6 separate regions of the Homo sapiens genome follow, and regions 1, 2, 4, 5 and 6 are each linked to region 3. The links are contacts of gene promoters, found by promoter capture Hi-C in blood cells and fetal thymus (Javierre and others, 2016). All regions are on one chromosome and are shown on one strand. The core of a region is centred on a gene start or on the middle of the fragment in contact, and the rest is flanking DNA. Distances in the headings are between cores, read along the strand shown. Region 1 overlaps GTF3C1 (general transcription factor IIIC subunit 1). Region 2 overlaps GTF3C1 (general transcription factor IIIC subunit 1). Region 3 holds the start of GSG1L (GSG1 like). Region 4 overlaps GTF3C1 (general transcription factor IIIC subunit 1). Region 5 overlaps GTF3C1 (general transcription factor IIIC subunit 1). Region 6 overlaps GTF3C1 (general transcription factor IIIC subunit 1).

The links. Contacts are between HindIII fragments. The CHiCAGO score rates a contact against its expected background, and 5 or more counts as called.
Region 1: a contact is called between a fragment that was not itself captured here and the fragment with the promoter of GSG1L in region 3, in 4 of 17 cell types (M0 macrophages, M1 macrophages, M2 macrophages and 1 more). The highest score is 9.4, in M0 macrophages.
Region 2: a contact is called between a fragment that was not itself captured here and the fragment with the promoter of GSG1L in region 3, in 2 of 17 cell types (megakaryocytes and M0 macrophages). The highest score is 7.5, in megakaryocytes.
Region 4: a contact is called between a fragment that was not itself captured here and the fragment with the promoter of GSG1L in region 3, in 3 of 17 cell types (M1 macrophages, M0 macrophages and endothelial precursors). The highest score is 7.3, in M1 macrophages.
Region 5: a fragment that was not itself captured here is called in contact with the fragment with the promoter of GSG1L in region 3 in 4 of 17 cell types (M1 macrophages, megakaryocytes, M0 macrophages and 1 more); the score reaches 12.1 in M1 macrophages.
Region 6: a contact is called between a fragment that was not itself captured here and the fragment with the promoter of GSG1L in region 3, in 1 of 17 cell types (M0 macrophages). The highest score is 5.5, in M0 macrophages.

The regions. Positions count from the first base shown.
Region 1 is chr16:27,528,596-27,532,358 of GRCh38, forward strand. GTF3C1 (general transcription factor IIIC subunit 1) reads right to left here. Exons shown (of 37, transcript NM_001520.4): 6 at 3-126. Among named protein-coding and RNA genes, the nearest start is that of GTF3C1, 19 kb to the right of the region's middle. The HindIII fragment of the contact is 4,165 bases long and covers 1-3,763 here.
Region 2 is chr16:27,508,646-27,512,455 of GRCh38, forward strand. It overlaps GTF3C1 (general transcription factor IIIC subunit 1), which reads right to left. Exons shown (of 37, transcript NM_001520.4): 7 at 3,104-3,256; 8 at 1-10. Among named protein-coding and RNA genes, the nearest start is that of GTF3C1, 39 kb to the right of the region's middle. The HindIII fragment of the contact is 8,426 bases long and covers 1-3,810 here.
Region 3 is chr16:28,061,818-28,065,716 of GRCh38, forward strand. It overlaps GSG1L (GSG1 like), which reads right to left and starts at 1,897. Exons shown (of 7, transcript NM_001109763.2): 1 at 1,259-1,897. The coding sequence starts at 1,607. The HindIII fragment of the contact is 8,058 bases long and covers 1-3,899 here.
Region 4 is chr16:27,544,504-27,548,445 of GRCh38, forward strand. GTF3C1 (general transcription factor IIIC subunit 1) reads right to left here. Exons shown (of 37, transcript NM_001520.4): 2 at 811-1,020. Among named protein-coding and RNA genes, the nearest start is that of GTF3C1, 3.4 kb to the right of the region's middle. The HindIII fragment of the contact is 1,208 bases long and covers 1,959-3,166 here.
Region 5 is chr16:27,491,407-27,495,587 of GRCh38, forward strand. GTF3C1 (general transcription factor IIIC subunit 1) reads right to left here. Exons shown (of 37, transcript NM_001520.4): 15 at 3,805-4,086; 16 at 3,357-3,502; 17 at 1,793-1,890; 18 at 1,211-1,307; 19 at 932-1,109. Among named protein-coding and RNA genes, the nearest start is that of IL21R-AS1, 40 kb to the left of the region's middle. The HindIII fragment of the contact is 4,726 bases long and covers 1-3,963 here.
Region 6 is chr16:27,472,747-27,476,451 of GRCh38, forward strand. It overlaps GTF3C1 (general transcription factor IIIC subunit 1), which reads right to left. Exons shown (of 37, transcript NM_001520.4): 29 at 3,705. Among named protein-coding and RNA genes, the nearest start is that of IL21R-AS1, 21 kb to the left of the region's middle. The HindIII fragment of the contact is 2,659 bases long and covers 628-3,286 here.

The sequences.
Region 1 (3,763 bases), core at 772-3,271, 530 kb before region 3:
ACCTTTCTTTGTCTTACAAGGTCCACATTCAGGGTGGATCTCTTGCAAGCGAAGAGACACCACCTTGGCTAGCCCGGCGTTCAGCATATACTGGTACAGACGCTTAAACGTCCTTTCGCACAGCCCCTGCCAAAACACAATTTAAAGGCTACTATTAGACACAGCAAGATGTCTGAAATGACTAGAAAGTCATATAAATGAACACAAGTTCAGGACCTGAATTAATTGATTATCTTGAGGTACTAATGAGGAAAGCCTGCCAAGCTACCTTGTCAAGGGACCAAAACAAGGTCCAGAGCAGGATATAAACGATTCTACCTTTTGATTAGAGGGGGAAAGAGATTCGCTTCGCCAGATCCTGGAAGGGTGTGCAGGGGTGAGAATGAGGCAGGCAGGAGTGGAGGAGTGGAGACTGAAGACTTCATCTGATACCTTTTCATGTTGTTTTGATTTTTTAACCATGTAAGTGTATTACTAATACAAACACACACACACAGATACACACCCCTGTCCCCCATGGGCAGGAGAGAAAAAAAAGGGGAAAAAATAGGTTAAAAAATTTTACAGGCTGGGTGCAGTGGCTGACACCTGTAATCCCAGCACTTTGGGAGGCCGAGGCGGGCAGGTCACTTAAGGCCAGGAGTTTGGACCAGCCTGGCCAACATGGCGAAACCCCGTCACTACTAAAAATACAAACATTAGCTGGGTGCGGTGGCATATGCCTGTAATCCTAGCTACTCAGGAGGTTGAGGGTGAGAACTGCTTGAACTGGGAGGCAGAGGTTGTAATGGGCCGAGATTGCACCACTGCACTCCAGCCTGGGTGACAGAGTGAGACTCTGTTTCAAAAAAAAAAAAAAAAATTGTGAAAATTTAAATGTGGTCTCTGAAGTTACAACAGAATGATAATGGGTATTTCCATCTCATCACTCCTATTTTTGCAAGGCTGAAAACCAAAATGATCCTAGGAACATCTCCCCTGCAGGGGTGACCAACAGCAGCCTCCAGTGCAGGCGGTGCTTTTAAAATTGATACAATGTTTTTCTTCAAGAAAGTAATTTACTTGCCAAAATTGAAAAGTGAGTGATTTCACATTAAAAAAGACCTAGATTCTGGCTTCTCTTCAAAGGCTAGGACTGCAGCTCCTCACAGCAACAGTGAACAGAAGCCTTGATCAGCTGCTCTTCAGCAGGGCCCACCCGGTTCCAGGGGGCCACAGCCTTTGCGCTCCCCAATCAGACCCTCCAACAATGAAACTGAACGTCAGTTGCCATTTATCACCATTTTTGTGCTGGTTTTCTCTAATGGTAGTTAAGAGGAAAGTTAATTTCTTAAACCTATCCTGTATCAAAAATTTATTTTATACATGGCCCATTTTGCTTGTGGGTATCACCCTCCTGGGCACTGCTGCCATGTGATTTTGCAGCCCCTGGCAGGTTACCATGGCTCCCAGCAAGGGAGCGAATGGCAGGAGGCACTCGTGACTGAGAGCTGTTCACTGAATCTTACAGCTTTCCTCTTACATTCTGGGGGGAGAGACAGGGAGCAAATGTCTGTGGGCTGCCGCCGCCACATATGTGTGGTTACCTCCCAGGCTAACCAGCACTCCAGCCCTTGGGTGGCAGAACATATGGCTATCAAAACAATACAGATGACTCACATATGGCTCATTCAAAGCCACTGGCTTGTACATGGCATTTATCGTTAATCTAGCCGTGCCCCCAGCATCATAAAAAGACCCCATGGAAACTCATCCATCAGATCCCAGCCCTTGACATATGGCACTAAGCCCTGGACCATCCTAAGAGGGGAAGGATGATGTAGTCTTGCCTTCTGAGGGGCTGCCATCAACGACGTGCACAATCTGGCCAGCAGAAAGAGAAAGAGGCAGTGAGTCTTCGTACCAAATCCCCCCAAAAGGCAGCATCCATATTCATGGCCTCAGCTTCATCTATAGGCTAATTTATTCACTGAATCCTGCTCAGCTCTCTGTGACCCCAATTTCCAGCTGTTGACTAGACATCACCAGGGGATAGTCATGGAAGATCTTCATACCCAATATGTCTGAAACTGAGATTTGTCCTGTGCCTCCTCCTCACCCAAATCTGCTCCTCTTTCTGACCTATTTATTCAACTCCCATTCAGCAAATATTTACTGAGCCTCTACAGGGGGCCAGGCACTGTCTTCATCGTGGGGGCCCGCAGTGAGCAAGCAGACATGATCCCTGCGTCAGAAGCCTGCCTTTGCGCTGCCTCAGTGAGCAGCAGCCACTCCAGCGAAACTCACTGGCTTCATCTCGAGATCCTCCTTCTTCAGTCACCTCTACATCCCAGTGCAGGCACTCACCACGTCCTGTTAGTTTCACCTCCAAAATGTTTCTCAAACAATTCCAGCCCTCATGACCACAACCTCGCCACCTTCTTCCCATCCCCTTCCCTCCACCAGCTCATATGCCTAGACTGCAACCTCCACCTCCCAGGCTCAAGCGATTCTCTGGTCTCAGTCTCCCGAGTAGCTGGACTGGTGCATACCACCACCCCTGGCTAATAACTTCTTCATTTCTACACGGCCAGCAGCAGTGCATAAGGCTAAAGTTTCAAGGCTAAAGTCCCCACTCCTCAGCCAGCACTCCAGTCCTTTCTGATTGGGCCCCTACCTTCCTATCCAGCCACACAATGTGCCAGCTGCCCTCTGGATTACTGCCCACTTCTAAGCATGTTGCATGGCCTTCCACAACTCATGCCTTTGCACCAGCTCTTCTCCTTTCCCTCAAATGCCACTTCCCCTCTGTCTATGTGGGGAAAAGCCCAGCTCAACTGTGCTTTTGGCACAGCTCTTTGAGGCTTTCCCCAGTTCTCTAAAGAAAGCACCCCTTTCCCTCTACTGGCTCAGCTACATCCTTCCAGGTATGTGTTCACACGCCTGCCCTTCTGATTAGACAGCTCCACGACAGTGTGAGACCTGTCATCCTGGCTAACTTTCACCATCTTATTGTGGAACACAGTTCTAACTCAACATACACACTCCCTGAAGTATCTGTTCAATGAATAAGTGAAAGGCTGTCCAGTAACAGTCAAGGCTTGCTGCTAACACAGTCCACAGGGCTGACCTGAAACCAGACTAGCCCTGTCTCCCTGCCCCCGAGTGACTTGGTAGGAGAGAGGGTTTCAATCTCCAGAGTCTGCATGGGCTGGACAAGTAACATTAATCCACACGGTGGCCAGGTATTTGTTTATTAAGCCGGTAGGAAATTCCTTCGTTTCTGCCAGGGTTTCCTGAGAGGCCTTCTCCATCTATCTTTGATTTTCTACTCTGATAAACTGAGACACAGAGAAGCAAAACACTTCTCCCCTACTACAAACAGCAGTGCTCATGGAGTGACAAATGGCCCTGCCTCCCTGCCTCATGTCGGAGAGGTGACAGGAAGCAGGTGGACTGCGGGGGACCCAGCTAGTGCACAACTAGTTCCAGCTAACTGATGTCAGGAGAGACGGCAGGCCCAGGCTTCTCATTTCTGGAGACAGACTGGAAACCTAGATTTTTATGGAAAGTCTCAATTTCTTAAAAAATGCTAGGTCAAATTTATTTTTAACAGACCAAGTCTGGGCCACAAGCCTCCAGACTGTAACCACTGCTTTAAAGAGGCTTAGGCAGGCAGTGAATCTAGCAATGTGGAAGACACCTCCTCCCCCTGTGAACAATGAAATCAGAGAACTCCATCGATGCAACGTGGGGAAAGAACAAGGACTGTCCTGGTGCCTGC
Region 2 (3,810 bases), core at 903-3,402, 550 kb before region 3:
CTGCGCTCAACTGTGAGAAACAATACACGTGAACCCAAACCGCTGCAAAGGAGCTGTTCTGCACAAGTCAGTTTCCAGCCCACTTTTTCAGCAGACATTTTGATGCTGTGAAATTAACAGACAGAACAAAACATACGCCATTTCTCTCCCTTATCCTCCCAAGCGTGCTTCCCTCCCAAGCCTCTGAGTAATATACTATACTAGGCTAGTAATACTAACAGCTAATGTTTGAATGCTTACTATCTCATGGCCCCACGTTAAAACACTAAATGTCAGGTGATCAACAGCTGAAATACTAAAATGCAAGAACCCAATAGGTTTTACCCAACGGCAGGAAATTAGCCCTTTCGCATGAATGAACTGTTTCAGATCAATGAAATTGACCTCTTTAAGAAGCATCAAAATAATTTTTAATTCAGAACTTTTCTTAATGTGTATTCTTCATTTCCCAGTATTTCTTGATAGACACAGAGGCATTGTGGACACTGACTACTGCACTGTCCCATAAGAGTCGTGCAAGCGAGGACTTTGAAAGGAAATGGTATTCCTCAGCCCTGGAGTAAATGACTCGCAGACCACTGGCCCCCGCTGTTGCTGTGTGTAGCTTGTCTACTCCTGGGCTGTCACAAGCTGGTGTATGTCAGGATTGTGAGTATATCTGCCGCTCAGAGGCCCTTTAAATGCATCCTACTAAGCTGGAACTAAGAACTCCAGGAAGGAGTCGGCTTAGGAACTGGGAGGTGGGCAGGGAGTCCCAGCAGTAAAGCACATGAGCCGCAAGGCAGACTTGGTTGCAAAGCTCTTTGACTTTTCAGAAGTATCTTCCTCTTGGCCGGGTGCAGTGCCTCACTCCTGTAATCCCAGCACTTTGGGAGGCTGAGGCGGGCGGATCACGAGGTCAGGAGATCGAGACCATCCTGGCTAACACAGTGAAACCCCATCTCTACTAAAAATACAAAAAAATTAGCCGGGTGTGGTGGCGGGCGCCTGTAGTCCCAGCTACTCAGGAGGCTGAGGCAGGAGAATGGCGTGAACTTGGGAGGCGGAGCTTGCAGTGAGCCGAGATCACGCCACTGCACTCCAGCCTGGGCGACAGAGTGAGACTCCGTCTCAAAAAAAAAAAAAAAAAAAAAAGAAGTATCTTCCTCTTTATTTCCTGATGCATCCAAAGGCTTGAGGCTGCCTAGTAAAATCAGTCTGAATAAAGGAGGTTTTGCTATGTTGTACACGCATAAAAATAAGCAGCAGAATGAAGAAAGATGACTAGGATGTGTTCCTATACTGATCTAGCAACACGCTAAAAAGTAGGGATGAAAGGGCTAACCAGGTGTGGTGGCTCACACCTGTAATCCCAGCACTTTGGGAGGCCGAGGTGGGTGGATCACCTGAGGTTAGGAGTTCGAGACCCACCTGACCAGCATGATGAAACCTTGTCTCTACTAAAGAAATAGAAAATTAGTCCGGACGCTGTGGCTCACGCCTGTAATCCCAGCACTTTAGGAGGCCGAGGCAGGTGGATCACGAGGTCAAGAGATCGAGACCATCCTGGCTAACACGGTGAAACCCCGTCTCTACTAAAAATACAAAAAAATTAGTGGGGCATGGTGATGGGCGCCTGTAGTCCCAAGTACTCGGGAGGCTGAGGCAGGAGAATGGCGTGAACCCAGGAGGCGGAGCTTGCAGTGAGCCAAGATCGCACCACTGCACTCGAGCATGGGCGACACAGCGAGACTCCATCTCAAAAAAAAAAAGAAATACAAAATTAGCCGGGCACAGTGGTACATGCCTGTGATCCCAGCTACTTGGGAGGCTGAGGCAGGAGAATCACTTGAACTTGGGAGGCGGAGGCTGCAGTGAACTGAGATACCACTGCACTCCAGCCTGGGCGACACAGTCAAACTCCGTCTCAAAAAAGAAAAAAGAAAGGGTTAAGGGCAGCATTTCCCCAGCTGTGTTGTGTGGAACCCATTCTGAGGGACGTCAAGGGAGCTACCAAACAGCCCTCCAGAAAGGTTGGGCCGACCCAACAGCTCAATCAGATCCCTTGCAGCCACTTCACCTTCTGCTCTGTCCTCCTCCCTGCAGGAACCTGAGGCCACACCGCCTGTGACACTAGGCCACTGATGTCCCACACAGAAGTTAGGGGACCTGGGGGAAGGGTTAGGAATGGGAGAGAATGTTTTCTTTGCCCATTCATCATAAATTCCGGGCCTGTGGTAACTCCAGACCAATCTTAGAAAACAACAGGTAGCTCTTGAACCTTTGAATAATAATAGTAATAGCTTTCTTCTTCTCAGTGCTTTCTATGCACCAGGCCCTATAGCAGCTCTTTTAATTTGATGTCATTTATCCTCATAATGTGCTAGTGTGGATACTTTCACCACGTGATGGTTAACCTTAGGTGTCAATGGGACTGGATTAAGGGATACCCAGATCACTGGTCAGGTTTTATCTCTGGGTGTGTCTGTGATGGTGTTTCTGAAGGAGATTGGTGTGTAGCTCAGTGGACTAAGTGGGACAGATCTGCCCTCCATGCAGGCAGGCACCATCCAATCAGCCAGGGGCCCAGACAGAACAAGAAGCCAGAGGAAGGCGAACTTGCCCTCTCTCTCTTCTGGAGCTGCAGCCCCCTCTTCTGCTGCTCTTGGCCATCAGAACTCCAGGCTCTCCAGCCTTAGGTAACTGGGACCTGCCCCCACGGCTTCCCTAGTTCTGACGCTTCCCTGGGCCTCCAGCTCGCAGACGAGCTAGTGCGACTTCTCAGCATTCATAATTGCATGAGCCAATTACCTTAATAAGCTCCCTCTTATATATCTATGTTTATTTTTCCTACTGATTCTGTGTCTCTGGAGAACTCTAAGATGCCTGCTTTACAGATGAGGAAATGGGACTCAGAGACCTCATTAAAATCATATGGCTAAGTGGCAGAGCAAGGATTCAAACTCCAATCTGACCTTGAAGCCTAAACCCTTCTGGGGAACCAAGGCACTTCCCATTGTATTACATTCTCTATAGCAGAGCTCTCTCTCGACATGTGGGCAAAGCGCTTCTTGACTCAAATTCTCGGGATCCATATCCAAGCTGGCATGGGAACAAGACTTACTGAGGTCGTAGGTCTGTGTGAGCATATCCCGCTCGAACACAATGTCCACTGGAGGCACTGTCTTGGAGATGACCTCCTCGTCCTCGTCATCATCATGGTCATTCCGTTTAAATTCCTTCAGCAGCTTGAGGCACCGAACCATGACGTCGGTCCCTGGCAACACAAGCACGGGTTTGCCAGCAATGAGTGAAAGCAGTGCTGCGTGGGGGAGGTGAGGGGTTCTGAAATATCACAGCACATGTCAGCAGAGACAGAGATCCCCACAAAGGTCACACATATCACCGTGTCTGGACTTTTAAAAATGGCTCATCTTGGGCCACAAGACCTGAAAATGTATTCCATAAAGCTGCTTTTTGTTTTTAGAAGAATGAGTGAAGAAAGCAATGCAAATGGAAGGAATAACGAGGTGCTATTAGTCCTGTTAAATCAATAGTCAGTCACCTTCTCCTGCTGGAGACCAGCTCCATGACAACAGGAGACGCGCCTGTCTCTTCCTGTTCCCTTCCCAGCACCCAGGACACGGCCCACACTCAGGAGGCACGCGAGCAGTATTTGCCAAAAGGATGAAAAGCATCTTTTTCCTTTTAAGCTAATACTCACTGCCAATAAGGTGTGGCAGCAGTGTAAACGAGCTGTATAACCCTTCTAGAGCATTTCAAGGGGATTTTATAATGATTCCAAGTGTAAATATTTATTCCAAGAAAACA
Region 3 (3,899 bases), core at 647-3,146:
CAGGTGGGAGAGTCCCAGTGAAAGGAGCCCCTGAAGAAGGAGGTGGGGCGGGGAAGGGCATTCCAGACAGAGGATGCAGCCTGTGCAGAGGCCTGGAGCTTTTCACTGGGTTCGCTTCACAGCTTCCTCCCTCTGCCCTCTAAACCACTTAGGCCACTGGCTTATTTAGGGCAAACTAAGGGTGGAGGTCTGCTGTAACCCACCCTTGAGCACACACATATGTGTGGTGTCCACACTGAGGAGCTAGGCATGCAGGGAGGAGTTTTAACCTTGGAGAAAGAGGTCAATTCACTCAGGAGGGTGTCCATGCCTGGACACCCGCTCAGAGATACCACGTCTTTCGGGCCAGCTCTACCTGCTGTGTGGCACAACCAGCTGTCCGGCAGCTGTCCCCTGGGCCCTGCCACAGCCCGGCTGTCTGCCTCCAAAACACGCACTCCAGCCCAGGCTGCCTCTGGAGGGTAGAGGAGGGGGTCCAGGCAAAGGGGACAGTCTGATCTGCCTTCTGAAAAGTCAGTCCCCCACCGAACCTAATAGGAGCCTTGTGCTAAGCTAAGCCCTCCTGGACTCCTCGACCCGGAGTTTGCCCAGCTGTCCCCAGTTCCCTAGCCTGCCTCTCCCAGGAGGGGGCCAGGATACAGAGGGCTCCCTGGCGTCTGGCAATAGGGGTGCCTCTGGGCGGGTGCGGCTTTCCGGGAGCCCGCGGGACTCCCCCACTCCCCACTCCCGTCTGGGAGGTTCGGCGTGGGTTGGCGATGGGGGTGGAAGGCTCCCGGGTCTGTGGATCTGCGGCAGGAGGGGCGGCTGGTAGCAGGAGTCCCTGCATCACCCCCACCCCCAGGGGCGTTCCGGGGTGGGTGGGGGCATCTAGTGCCCCGCGAAAGGAAGAGGAGGAGGGGGCGAGCGTGGAGATGAGTTCAGGAGCGGAAAGCAGCGCGCGCCCCTCCGACCGGCAGCGGGGGTGGGCGCCTTCCCGGGGCGCGGGAGCGTCCCCAAAGCCGCGGGGCGTCCGCAGCGGGTAGGAGCTCTGCCTTGCACCTCTCCACGGCGGGGCGTCCCGCACGTCCCCCCATGCTGGTCCCCGGCCCCGGAACGGCGCGCGCCCCCTGCCCCGGAACGTCGCCCCTAGCCAGGCGGAGCGCTGGGAGCTGGGCCCAGGCGGCGGGAGGAGGGCGAACGGGTCCGGGGCTCGGGCCTCGATGGCCGCGCCGCCCCGGGGGAGCCGGAGCCGAGCTGGCCGCCGCCCGCGCGCACTCACCAAGCCCGCTGAGCTCCTCCTCGCACGAGTACCAGATGCCGGTGTGGAAATTCCTGAAGAGGAAGCGGTCGTCGCCGGTCTCCCAGCTGTAGAGCGCGCCGCCAGGGGGGCCGTTCCCCGAGGCGGTGGCGGCGGCGGCGGCGGCGGCGGGGGCGGCGGTGCCGTTGGCCGTGGCGTTGGCGCCCGAGTTGGGGCAGTTGGCGCGCCCGCCCTGGCCGCAGCCCGGCTTGGGGACCCGCTGCGTGCCCTGGCACCAGTGCGTGGTGAGGAAAGCGGTGGTGGCGAACAGCAGCGCCAGCAGGTTCAGGGCCACGGCCAGGAGCGCTCGGCCGCGGCGGCTAGTCTTCATGCCGCCCGCGCCGCCGGGACGGGACTGCACCGCCGGGGAGCTCCGCGCGCGAAGTTGGCAGCTGGCGCCCCGCGTCAGCGGCCGCTGCCCGCCGCGCCCCGGGGCTCGGGTGCCTGAGATCGGCGGCGGCGGACGCGGCGCGGGCCCATGCCCCCCCCAACCCCGGGGTGGGGGCGCGGCGCGGGGGGCGTGCGGGGCGGGCTGGCGGGGCGGGCGGCGGTGGAGGAGCGGCTACGGCGCGCCCGGAGCCCGGAGCGCGAGTGCACCTCGGCTAGGAGCCGCTGGCGCCTGGCAGCGGCCACGGCGCAGGGACGCGCGCCCCTCCGTGGGGAGACACCTGCAGGCGGCCGGCGACACTGTTCCGGAGCCCGCCCGCACGGGGAGAGGGGGCCGCCACGCCGGGCGCGGGCGGGGGCCTGGGAGTGGAGGGACGCCCCCGAAAGAAATCCGAGCCAGGGTGAGGGTCTGAGACGCAAGGAGAATCCCAGGCAAGGCGCTCCTGAGAAAAGATCCCCACGGCGGACGTGGGGCAACAAAACCCGCCGGGAGCGGGCATCTCATGAGACCCAGAGAGGCCCTGCCCCAGGAGACAAGGGCAGAGCCTGCTGGGGCTCCCCAAGAGGGACACGGACCAGCAGGACCCTGTCCCAGAAGGGGATCCCCAAAAGGACCCCCGCACCAGACCCTGAGAAAGGAGTTTTTCCAAAGGTTCTAAACAGCAGAGCCTGCAGGGCTTCCCACAGCCAGGGAGCTGCAAGACCCCCTGGATAAGACAACCCATGCTGGACTTGGAGTGGCAGAATCTGTCAGGAGGCGCCCCTCCTGGAGTATTGGGTTATAGGGTTTGAAACGTTTTTCTGTCTCCTGGGTGTCACCTCCAGCATCTGGGAAGAGCTCCCCTCCAAGGATGAAACTGTCATCTGGGCTCCCAACCATGGCATGCAACTGCAGGAAGAGTGGCAACAGGGTACCCCAGACAGCCCACTGCACCCACCTGAGATCCCAAACAGCAGAACCCTAGGAGGGCCCATGCCGGCCACAAAGTTATTGCAGCTACCAGGCAGTGGTGCCCTACAGGGGCTGCCAACCCTGCTCACATGCACACCATGTGAATGTGGGTAGAATCTTCAAGATTCGGGTGGGGGCAGGGTGGCCAAACATACTGACTTTGGGATCAAGCATATCTAGGGCTTGACCAGCTGTGTGGCTTTGAACAGGTCACTTACCCTCTCTGAGCCTCAATTTCCATAACTATAAAAAAGGGAGGACCCCCCCCCCTTCAAGGTATATCACAGTGGGCTGCTGTAATGAGATCATGGCTGCAAAAAGCATTTGGCACACAGTAGACTCAATTAATAATTCACTGTTACTGACATCTGAACCAAGATCAGTTGACCAAACTCAGACAAACCTCTTCAGGCTCTCCTGTGCAACGTGGAAACTGTGTGCAACCCCGTCCCCACCTCTGCTCTAAGATGACCACGCTCCCTGAACTCCCTTCGCGCTGCACAGCACTTACTGCCCAGATGCTCAGGGCGTGCAACAATTAATTGCATGTTGATTATAAGAGCTCATTTGAATTCTGCCCAAGCTGAGAACTGCTCCGACAACCCCCGGCTTGCCGAGTGGCAGGCCTTGCAGAATTCAAGGTTAACCGATTATGAATTGCCTTACTCCTGTGGGTGAGCCGGCACCCACTGTCAGCTGCTGCTAATCTGCCGGGGGGTAGGTGAGAGGAAAACGTTGTGGGCAACGTCCCTGGTAAGAGCAGGCACGAAGGATGGCCAAGGGTCTCCAAACTTGCTTTTAGAGCCCTTTTCTGGCACTGTGCAAGAGATTCTCAACTATTTTGAAAGAGAGGACCTCCATGTGATAATGGTGGCATTGAGAGTATTGGTTGACAGAGAAAATACATCATCGCCAAACAGCTGTAAAGAATCCAGTAGCATCTTTTTTTTTTTTTTTTTTTTGAGATGGAGTCTCACTCTGTCGCCCAGGCTGGAGTGCAGTGGTGCAATCTCAGCTCACTGCAACCTCCGCCTTCTGGGTTCAAGCGATTCTCATACTTCAGCCTCCCGAGTAGCTGGTATTACAGGCGCTTGCCACCACGCCTGGCTATTTTTCATATTTTTAGCAGAGACGGGGTTTCACCGTGTTGGTCAGGCTTGTCTCGAACTCCTGACCTCAAGTGATCTGCCCGCCTCGGCCTCCCAAAGTGCTGGGATTACAGGCATGAGCCACCGCACCCAGCCTCCAGTAGCACTTTTAAACTGGCATGCAGTATTCATCATG
Region 4 (3,942 bases), core at 1,313-3,812, 520 kb before region 3:
AGCCTTAGACAGGGCCACCATTTCTCACCTCCTCCGAGATGAGAGTAGACAGGGAAGAAATGTGGAAAAGTCTGCAAGTCAAGAAAGAAGGTGGAAGTTAGCAGAGTTCACATTGCCCTGTAAAGTAGGAAGGAAGGCAGGAATGGAGTTAGGTGCTTGAAAAAAAATGATCATTTGGATTAGACACTCTGGGGAATTGGGATACTGACTGAGGATTCACAAGAGAATGGCTTGGCAGCACAGGGCCCAGGTAGGAAGAGAGAAAGGGCACCATTCAAGTGCTCAAGGACTGTGAGCACAAAGGAAAGAGAAAGGCAGGACCCGTGACCCCAGTGAAGAAGGCGAATGAAGGCCAAGAACTGGCGTAGTGCAGGGCTAGTGAACTCTGACAGACTCCAAGGTTGTGGGCCAGATCCAAGTGCTCTGACTACACATTCAAAGCACTCAGATTCCCAGGAATTTCTTTTTTCCTTTTTTTTTTTTTTTGTAGACAGGGTCTGACTCTGTTGCCTAGGCTGAAGTGCAGTGGCATGACCTCGGCTCACTGCAGCCTGCCTCTGCTTTCTGGGTTCAAGTGATTCTCATGCCTCAGCCACTACAGTAGCTGGGATTATGGGCATGTGCCACCACACCCGGCTAATTTTTGTATTTTTAGTAGAAACAGCGTTTTGCCATGTTGGCCAGGCTGGTCTTGAACTCCTGGCCTCAAGTGATCCACCTGCCTCGGCCTCTTAAAGTGCTGGGATTACAGGCGTGAGCCACCGTACCCGGCCAGATTCCCAGGAATTTCTGATGGTGCAAAATAGTTACCTGTCAAAGGCTTCCACCATTGTACAGCGAGGCTGCAAGGACTTGGTTCTGATGTCATTGGTAATGTTTTTCCTCTCCTTAAAGTAGCGGCATGAGCCCTGGATGCCATCCTTATTCTCTAAGATCATATGAATGGGGTAGACATCCTCCAAAGCCACCGGGTCCCTCCTAGACTCCAAAATTCCAGTTTCCAAATCAATTTCTTCATACCTAAGGAGAAAAACACAAATATCAAAGCCCAACTCAGCTTCAGATATAATGTGTGCTTGGCTGTGTTCTTTTGACAACCTCCAGCAGAGATCAGAGAGAAGTGAGATCAGTCAGTTTTCCTGCCTTATAAATGCAGATAATCTTGACAAGCAGGTTCCTGCCTTTCTATCCCACAGAACGCAGACCTTTCCAGGACTCCCCAGACTATTCCAGAAGCTGGGTGCTGGGACCTAAACCTCCTTATTGGCCAAGTCATGGGCTTTTGTTTCCCTCCAAATCTGGTACTCAGTCTCCAAACCACCAAGTTGGACGAAATGATTCAAGGCTTTCCTCCGCTTTTTTGAGATGGAGTTTTGCTCTTGTTGCCCAGGCTAGAGTCCAATGGCATGATCTTGGCTCACTGCAACCTCCACTTCCCAGGTTCAAGCAATTCTCCTGCCTGAGCCTCCCAAGGAGCTGGGATTATAGGGGTGTGCCACCACGCCCGGCTAATTTTGTATTTTTAGTAGAGATGACGGTTCACCATGTTGGTCAGGGTGGTCTCGAACTCCTGACCTCGGTGATCCACCCGCCTCAGCTTCCCAAAGTGCTGAGATTACAGGTGGGAGCCACCACAAGTGGCCAAAGCTTTCCTCCCTTTAAGATCTCATCTTTCCATCTCTCCTTAGTTATCTCTCTAATATCCTAACCCATTTTCATGGTTTGCATTACCGCCTGCATGTTAACAAGTCTCACCTTTGAATCCTCAGTCCTTTTTCTCCAAATACAGATCCAATGTCTTCACTTGTCTATTAAATGCCTCCCATTCCAAATATGATTACCTCTCCCCAGCTCCAATTAAGTCCCTTCTTTCCCCTCTTACTACCGCTTTCTTCCATGTGCCTCTTACAACACCATGGAGACATTTTTCATTTGTGCTTCTTTCATGCAGTTAGCCAAGCTTGTCAAGTTTTTTTTTTTTTGAAAAAAAAAAAAAATACATACATATATATATATATAATTTTTTTTCCCCTCACTATGTTGCCCAGATTGGTCTTGAACTACCGGGCTCAAGTAATCTGCCCACTTCAGCCTTGCAAAGTGCTAGGATTACAGGTGTGAGCCACCTTGCCTGGCTGCTTGTCGAGTTTTATTTTGAAATCTCACTCATATCCTACACTAGTCTAATTGCGGCTAAATCCTATGTACATGTTTCAGCCCTTTCCTTCCTTGCCCCCTCTGTGTTATCTGCACCATTTAACCCTCCATTCCTTTTTTTTAAGACTTGAGTTTTGATCTTGTCACCCAGGCTGGAGTGCAGTGGCGCAATCTCGGCTCACTGCAACCTCTACCTTCTGGGTTCAAGCGATTCTCCTGCCTCAGCCTCCCTAGTAGCTGGGATCACAGGCACCTGCCACCACACCCAGCTAATTTTTGTATTTTTAGTAGAGAGAGGGTTTCACGATGTTGGCCAAATGATCCACCTGCCTCGGCCTCCCAAAGTGCTGGGATTACAGGCATGATTCACCACACCCAGCCCAACCCTCCGTTCTTAAATGATCCTGTCTCCTCCCAAACTTCCAGAACACCACTCTGACCTGACTGTCCTCTACCTCTCCAGCCACACCGCCTCAGTCTTCTTTTGAAAGTCCCTCACCCTCCATCCAGCCTTGAAATGTAGGTGCACTGCAGAGCTATATCTCAAGACCTCCAACCACACTACACTCTCTCTTAGGGCTGATCTTAGCCAGCTGCTTTAATTACCAGCTGCTAGGAATGACTCACAGATGTCTAGCTCAGTCCCTCCCTCTGGCCTGCTTTCACTCCCACGAAGCCAGATGTTTACTAATTAAGACTCTTCACTTGGACAACTCAAAAGAACCTGAAGCTAAATGTGTCACATGTCTCTTCAGCAAAGTCCCCACCTCCCCCAGACTCAACCCCCACGCTGTTCTTCCGTGTTCCCAGCCTCAGAGATGAGAATCAGGGTTCGCTCAGGTGCCCAAACAGCAGCCTACTATGTCTTGACTGCCTGTGCTCTTCATCCCCACGCCCACCATGGTAAGCCAGACCATGACTAGATTACTAAAAATCTCTCAACTTCACTCTTTGCCCCTAGTCTGACCCTCTCTTCAGTGACTTCTCACTGTCCTTTTGATAAAGGATAAGCTTTTTTTTTGAGATGGATTCTCCCTCTGTCACCCAGGCTGGAGTGCAGTGGCACAATCTCGGCTCACTGCAGCCTCCACCTAGCTGGGATTTCAGGCGTCTACCACCACGCCCAGCTAATTTTTGTATTTTTAGTAGACATGGGGTTTCACCATGTTGGCTGGACTGGTCTTGAACTCCTGACCTCAAGTTATCCGCCCACCTCTGCCTCTCAAAGTGCTGGGATTACAGGCTGATAAACTCTTTAAGTAGGTTAAAAGACTTGATTCCAGTCCAATTTGGCTGGAATCTGAACTCAGACCTTCCTCAAAGTCTGGGTTCTTCCCTTGCTAGTTGACTTTTAGCATGCCACTTGACCCCTCAGGGCCTCGATTTTCTCTTCAGGAAAATGGGGAGAATATTACCCATCTCCTAAGGTTTCTGTAAAAATTAAATAACATGTTGTATTAAGGATCTTAGCACAGTCCTAGCTATTCCTCATTCCCTACCTCCAATTCCACACTTCAGCCACTTACTTCACATTTGCTGTTCTCTGTCCAACAGTCCTCTTTGCCAACTGGCTGCCTAAATCCAACCTTTAAGTTTTGTCTCGAACATTATTTTATTTTATTTTTGAGACAGAGTCTCACTCTGTCACCCAGGCTGGAGTGCAATGGCTGAATCTCAGCTCACTGAAACCTCTGTCTCCCAGGTTCAAGTGATTCTCCTGCCTCAGCCTCCTGAGTAGCTGGGATACAGGCATGCGCCACCACGCCAGGCTAATTTTTGTATTTT
Region 5 (4,181 bases), core at 351-2,850, 570 kb before region 3:
CACATTTACAGGATGCCGACTGTGCACCCGACACTTTGCGACACATCATGGGGATGGAAGCCAACTATTCTAGGCACAAGGAACTCCCAAGATGAAATGGAATGATGCTAATAAAGGTGTGGACACGCTTTCTCTGAGAGGTGACACCTGAAGTAGGAGTGGGCATCTGAGAAGCCAGTGTGGGAGGGAGGGTCCTTCTAGGGAGAGAGAGGGGTGTGGGCAGAGGCTCCCCACAAAGCCCAACTCAGCCAAGTCACCAGCACATCTGATCAGTTCCCTCCAAAACACCTCTAGGCCTGTCCTGTCCTCCTCACTGTCACCAGTGGACGGCCACTCTCCTCCTACCCACATGGCCTCCTCTCTTTCTCCAACATACCACTCAAGGCTTCAGCCTGTGTCACTGCCCCTGCCTGGGATGCCCTCCCCAGCTCTGGCCCTGGCTGGCTCTGCCTCATCCTATAGAATTCAGCTCCAATGTCTCCTCCTCAGCAAGGCTGTTCCCGAGCCCTGGAATAAACACCACCCCAACCAACACCTAGGCCCTCACTGCACTCCTGTGAGCTGTGTCTCCTCTTCACACTAGATTTTGAGTCTCACGAAGGCAGGGCGGGCTGTGTTCTCATTGTGGCACTGTCAGGCACAGGAAGTGACACACAGCCGGTGTGTTTAATAAATACCTACTCAATGAACAAATGAAGACAAAGTGCAGCTACTTGGGCTCAACTGAGTGGGGGAACCGGAAGCACCCCACCCATTCAAGGCCCGCCACTTTCCTTTCCAAGGGAGCCCCAGGGGTGCTCTGGGCCTCTGGGGAGCACTCGGAACATACCACTGGTTGAGGCAACTCCTAGGCTTTTCTAGCCCTAAATCCCAGTTAGCACACAGAAAGGAGCAAAAGCAGCCAGGTTCAGCCGAGACAGCCGACACCCACCTAGTGGGGTGTTGAGGCAGACGCACTGCAGGTCAAACCAGTAGTTTTCCACATCCTGCATTGAGTTCAGGACATAGAGGCGCCTCTCGAAGGGCCGGCTGCTGCGGGCCAGGTTGTAATGTGGGTCGCAGATGGTAGTGTCAACAATGACTGCATTCTTCTTCAAGAAGATAAAGACCTAAGGGGAGACACCAGACAGGGAGAACCCACATTGGGTCTGGCTGCTTGGAGACCGTTTAACAATCAGAATTTCCTTCGTTTGGGCTTGAGGGACATTACCTGATCTTTATCCTGAAACTTTTCCGTGGGACCAAACTGTAGCAGCCCCATGTAGCACAGCCTCTGAAGGTTCTCCACCACCGAAAAAATGTAACGCCTAGAAAACAGAGGGGGCGGGAGGTTCTCATCACACCACACTCGCAGCCGGCCGCAGGGGTCTGCATGTGGGGTGAGGGGTGCGACTTCCTTCTTCTCTTTTCCACCTGGTGGTCACTGGAGGACCAGCCTCAAGCCCACACTGCACTAAGGCCCAGAACTACCCAACCTAACACCCAACCAGGGCCACAGAGATCAACCCGACACTAGGGATTTGATTTGGAAAGTAAAAGTAATGAAAGGGAAAAAAAATTCCGATACTTGCAGACACTAGCAGCAGATTTTACTTTAAAAGAACCTTCAAATCAAGTAATAAAATATACCAGCCCATACTTCATTAATATTAATAACTTAATAAAAATCTTGAGTTTTTGCAAGCTGGAAGTTAGAAACCTTTTCCTCTTCCTGGTGAATGATGGCTTAGAGCCCTGACTTAAGGGTTTGTTTGGACCTGCGACTACTCTGGGTCAGGTTCAATGGCCTCACCTCTTGTACAGAAGCTGCTGCCGAATGGGCCTGGGGAGAAAGCGGATCAGCGTGTGCTTCTTCAGCGGGTCGTTCAGAAATTCCTCCAGGTTGTCCACCTGAAGAGGTGATGTGCAGGTTCAGCTCGCCCTGAGGGCCAGGGCGACCTGCAAGAATCTTGAAAAAGTGCTCGCCACTATTTTCTGACCATAGTCTCCCTGAACCTGCCCACTGGGCTCTCCTTCCTGCCCCACCAAGTGCCCCTGCATCTCTGCCTTTGGCCTCGCTGCCCCTCCCCTCCAGCCCATCTACCACACTGCAGAGGGCAATAAACAGGTGCCCTCATACCCTGCTGGTAGGCATAGAAATTGCTAAACCTTTCCCGGGGGCAACATAAGAATATATACATTTATATTTTAAACAAGAAAAGATGAGATAGAGAACACGCGTTCCTTTTGAAGCCAGTGATTCTGCTCCTATCCTTACCCAAAGGAAAAAATGCTGGAGCCGCCAATCTATGTCTACCCAAAAGGTATTCATCAACATGTCATAATAAATACCTACTCAACAGTAGTAAGAAAGTGGAATTTAAATGTCCAAAAATAGAAAATATTATGGTTAAATAAATTAGACACATAAGAATACTATGACTCTACTTAATATCAAGTCTAAAAAGTTAATGATGCAAAAAATACAAAACATTCTTTAGTCAAAAGCACAGACAATAAAAGAGTGAATATAGTTTCAATTCAGCTTTTTTTTTTAAAGGGAGATCACACACATACCCGTGTACATACAAGTATGGCATAGCAATAAAAGACTACAAAAACCTTACCAAGAAGATAATTACTTAGTAGTAATTATCTCTATGAGTGATACAGTTATGGGTAATTTCTATTTTATCTTTCTCTATTTACCAAATTTCTAAAAACAACATGTTTTGGTCGGGTGCAATGGCTCACGCCTGTAATCCCAGCACTTTGGGAGGCCAAGACGGGCGGATCACAAGGTCAGAAGATTGAGACCATCCTGGCTAACATGGCAAAACCCCGTCTCTATTAAAAATATAAAAAATTAGCCTGGCGTGGTGGTGGGTGCCTGTAGTCCCAGCTACTTGGGAGGCTGAGGAAGGAGAATGGCGTGAAACTGGGAGGCAGAGGTTGCAGTGAGCAGAGATCGCGCCACTGCACTCCAGCCTAGACGACAGAGCAAGACTCTGTCTCATAAAAAAAAAACAAAAAAAAAAAACAAAAAAAACCACGTTTTATTGTTGTAATATAATTGTCTTTCTGTCTACCTACCTACCAATAGATCCATTTAGAAGAGCGAGTCTTTAAAGTATTTACCCGCCAACCACCCACCCATCCACCCAATCATCTTTCTAATCTAATCTAGTCTAATCTATCTCGAACAAATCCTTAAAATATTTTCCCTTGAATGAGCATCTGCCTATCCATCTATCCACCAATCCATTCATCTGGGCAACACCGGGTCTTCAAGTATCCTCCCTTGCCCAGGTGAGTGTAGGCCCTCCAGCCCAGAGCTGAGGGGCAATTCCTGTGATAATGGCTCCTGTCACCAATACCTTGTAGCTGACTTGCACAATCTGGATGAAGATGGAGAGGGGAAGGCAGAGGAGGATGTCGCTGACGAGAGCCCAGCCAAAGCCGAAGTCCCTGTGGACTGGGATTGGGGGGATGTAGCGCATCCACGAGGCATCGTCGACATACACTAGGAAAAAAACGCACGGTTACCCCCGGCAGCCAGGATACCAGTCACCATGGTGACACATGGTAACGTCATCTCCCAGGAGGTCTTGGTGTCTTTACCCCTAATTTGAGGAAAACTCTACTTGTCAGGCAGGAAGGAAGATGAGGAAGAAAGCCTGCAGGTTCAGGAAGTGTGGATTATGTTTCCATTTGGATCAGAGGCTGCAGCCAGTTTATATAAGGAAAAGGAACTATCATGTTTCTCCCTGGATCCTACTACTGGGCCTGCCCGCCCCAGGTGCAGGAGTGGCAGGGGCCTCTCACCTGTCTCCGTGGCAAGCTCCACTTCAGCCTCCCAGGTGACACCATCTTGGCTGCCTTTAGATGGGGCTTCAGAGCAGGCCTCCCAGGCACTTCCAGAGGAGGACGGCCGGACGCCTGCCCTGCCTGACTCCTGCTTTATCGTTCTCCGTTCACTGATGAAGCTTGGCTTCTCCACGGTGTTGCTGGCAGGGTGCCCGTAGATGAGGTACCACAGAAACATGTGGACCACCCGCAGGCGAGGCATTTTGGGCAGAAATCCTAGAGAACGCCCCAGTCCGGGAACTAAAGCAAGAGAGGGAGAGGGCGGTGCTTGAAAAATCCCATACTGAATTCAGTTTTAATTCATTAAAAAATGATTGAGTGCCACTATGTGCCAG
Region 6 (3,705 bases), core at 707-3,206, 590 kb before region 3:
CAACATTCAGGGCTCAGCCCAAATATTTCCCCTCAAATAACAAATCCCTCTCCATTCTCCTCCTCTGAGGTCAATTGCCTTATATTATCCTGTTTTATTTTCTCCATAGCAGCCACCTGAAACAATCTCATTTGCTTACTCATTGTTTGGAAGTCCCAGGAGAACACAGATTCAACTCCTTTTTTTTTGAGCCAGGGTCTCACTCTGTTGCCCAGGCTGGAGTACAGTGACACCAACATAGCTCACTGCAGCCTCGACCTCCTGGCTCAAGCGGTCCTCCTGCTTCAGCCTCCTGGGTAGCCGGGACTACAGGCACTATGCCTGGTTAATTTTTGTATTTTTTGTAGAGATGGGTTTTTCACCATGTTGCCCAGGCTGGTCTCAAACTCCTGGCCTCATCCTGCCTCAGCCTCCCAAAGTGCTGGGATTACAGGCGTAAGCCACCATGCCTGGCCTAGATTCAACTCTTGCTGTTGCCACCCCAGTGCCTAGGCGGAAGGAAGTACCTCTGCTGGACATGCCATGGTGACTTCATGGCTCAGCCTGCTAAGTCTCATGGACCTGGGCCCCGCCTAGTGAACAAGCAGCTCAAAGGACTGTGCAGTCAGCAGAGTCTCTGTTACTCCAAGCTTCTGCAAAGGGCAAGCAACCAGCAGTTCCTGAGTATCTAGCATTTGCCATCCTCTGAGAGAGCTCCTATAGGACTGTCTCCTCAAAAGCACTGGCCAAGAAAAATCCCTGTCATGGTCTAAGGATTTTAGGTGCTGCCCCCAGGACCTTCAGTGACAGAGGAGGCTGAGGCACATGGACTTTAAGTGATCCTCTGAGGTCACACTGTCAGGCAGGGGTGGGTCAGAGGAGAGAAGAGCAACCTCACCACTGCACCTTCCTTCCAGTGGAGGGACACAAGGGGACCGGGGACCGGTGCGGTGGTCAGCTGGGGCTCTGGGGCAGCACCCAGGTGTTCCCTGGAGCGTATCTGAATGAAGCCTGTGCAACTTGCTTCCTCTAGACAGCACCTGTGCGCCAGTCCTGGGCATGCAGACCATCAGACCTTATGGGGGAACACTCTCCATGTGGTGGGCGGGAGAAGCTGGGAGTGGCCATTACACCATCATCCTTCCCTAGAGCACTGGAGGGAAGCTGCATCTCACTCCTTGTGACAAGCCTTCTGTGACTTTGCTCTTCTCTTCCATTTGAATATAACTAGCGAATGGGTGTATTCCCACATAACAGGATAGGAGCGCTCAGGCCATGTGTGGTGAGTTGGGGGGTATCGTCCACCCACTCACATTTCCAAGAGGCTGGGCTGTCACAGGCACAGTGAGCCCACCTGCAGCCTTCCACTGGCTTCCCGGAACCTTGAGGGGAGCCTCGCGGGGTCCCCTATGGGGCTCTGACATTGCTGTTGGCCTTCCAGTCCTCACTCAAGAGTCACTAAAGAAGTGTCCTGTTTCCTGCTCGGGGAGGGAGGCTACGCAGGCCGGTGGTCTTTCTAAGGTGACTTTCCATGCCCCTGGGGGTTAAGGCAGAGTGACTAGGCCTTCGGTACCACACATCAGAGCCCAGGTGCCACCTGGAGATGGAACTGGAACTGGAGGAGGAAAAAGCCGTGGGAATAATACTGGGGATGGGCCTGGCTAGAAGGCAGGGGGCCCAGCTTTTGCCGTTGGGGCTGGGCTTTCTTGTTTGGAGGTGGGGTACAGTGGGAAGGATCCCCAAAGTCCCCTCCAGCTCTGAGCCACTAATCAGCAGGATAGCTGGAAGGCCCACCCCACAGCCAGAAGTCGGAAATTTGGACTCCTGTGTGCAATGTTGGAAAAAACATTTTTTGAAAAAAAAATTTTGTTTTTTCCTTTTAAACAAGCGTGAGACCAATAAAATACGGTCTGTGGACTGTTTATTTGGAACTTCACCCAATACTATTTATTCTTTTCTCTGCAAGTTCAGGCTCAGACAGGGCTTTGCTTTCATCTACAAAATGCTGGGGTGGCAGAGGGCGCACGGCACAGATACTAGCCTTCCACTCCAAATGTGTACACTTGACCGTATGTGTAAAACAGGCAGGAGGAAATAAAACACAGGGTTCAAGGGATGCACAGCAAGTGTATGAGGACATTTCTCGGGCCTCCCTGATTGATGGTCCCATGTGTCCCTGCAGGAGGCACAGAGAACCTCCAGGTGGTGATTAAAACAGGAGAAATCAAATGCACACTCTGTCTTGGGTGTGCTGAGGTCTGGCCATGGCCGTTAAAGACTAGGGCCAGGGTGCTGCTCTGAAGCAGGGCATTCAAGCCCAGCGTGGCATTTTCCTGAACCAGTTCCATTTCCCCCAGTCCTCCCTGCCCCGCTGTGGCCAAAGTAACAAGCACGTGCAGCGCCCCGCCAGGGTCAACACTGCTGTTTCTGCAAGGGTGGCCCATGGGCCCCTTCGGGATTGGGGAGGGGTGGCACACTCTTATCAGGGCCCCACTCCACTGCTCTTGACTGGAGTCTCTGAGAATAGGGCTTGGGCTTAACATGCTATAAGATCTCTCTGTGGACTGTGAGGCGCCCTAATGATCGGGTCCTCACCCATCTGAATTCATCGGCGGGATTAGGAAAGTCCCTTTGTTTTCTTATTCTTTTTTCCCCTCGTATTCCAAATCAGGTGACTTGTTAATGTAAGCCAGGAGCAGATTTTTAGGGTTAGTGATTAAATACAAAATGAACGGGTCCTCCTTAGAATTCACTTTTGATGACTTGGGGGAGAACGAGGCCCTGGGCAGCACTGGCAGGGGACCCTCAGCACCTCTCTGTTGGGGTCTTGGGTGATGACTGAGATATGTGGTCTTGGGTGTGTGATTTAACTTCTCTGAACCTCAAGTGCCCACATTTGTATAAGAGTAGTAAGACCACTGACTTCCCAGGCTCCACCGGGGGTTCGATGTGATTTCCCTTCCTCACTCTCATGTTCTTTCAGCCGCAGTAGAGCGGCCGCGTGGACCTGTGTCCTCGGGAGACAGATGACTCACTGCCCACGGAAAGGCAGCTTTCCCATCCAGTGACCTCCCACAACCAGAATATCTTGGCATTCCAAAGTGATGATTTGAAAAGCTATGCCGTATAGCTCAATTACTTTCTCAGGTCCTTTGCCATGCCTCATTTCCTCTCCTGCTTCATTTTCTGTCTTAAACATTAGACTTAAAAACCTCAGCTCTGGGAGGGATTGTGGAGGTCACTAGATCCCATCCCCATGCTTTAAAGACTAAAGAGAGAGATGAGGAAAGCTGGCCAAGGGGTGCAAAGCTTCAGTTCTATGAGATGCTAAGCCCTGGAGGCTCACAGCTTGGTAATGACAGGTGACAATCTGGTGCTGTACACTTGAAATGCACCAGGAGGAGAGATCGCCAAGTGTGCTCACCATAATGAGAAAAGGTACTATGTGGGGTGATGGATGTGCTAATTGGCTTGACTGTGACGATTATTCTGCAATGTATACGTACATCAAATCCTCCAGTTGTATAACATAAACATACACAATAAACACAAAGAAATAAAAATAAAACAACGATAAAAAAATAAAGTTGAAAGACATGTGGGCTGGCATTTTGGGGGAATCAGCCCAAGAGCCCACAGCGGAGAAGGGCAGGGGCCAGCACCTCACGAGCCTGGCCTCGGAAGGGCCCACATCCCCGCTGTGCTGCCGGGCAGCCGACACCCACC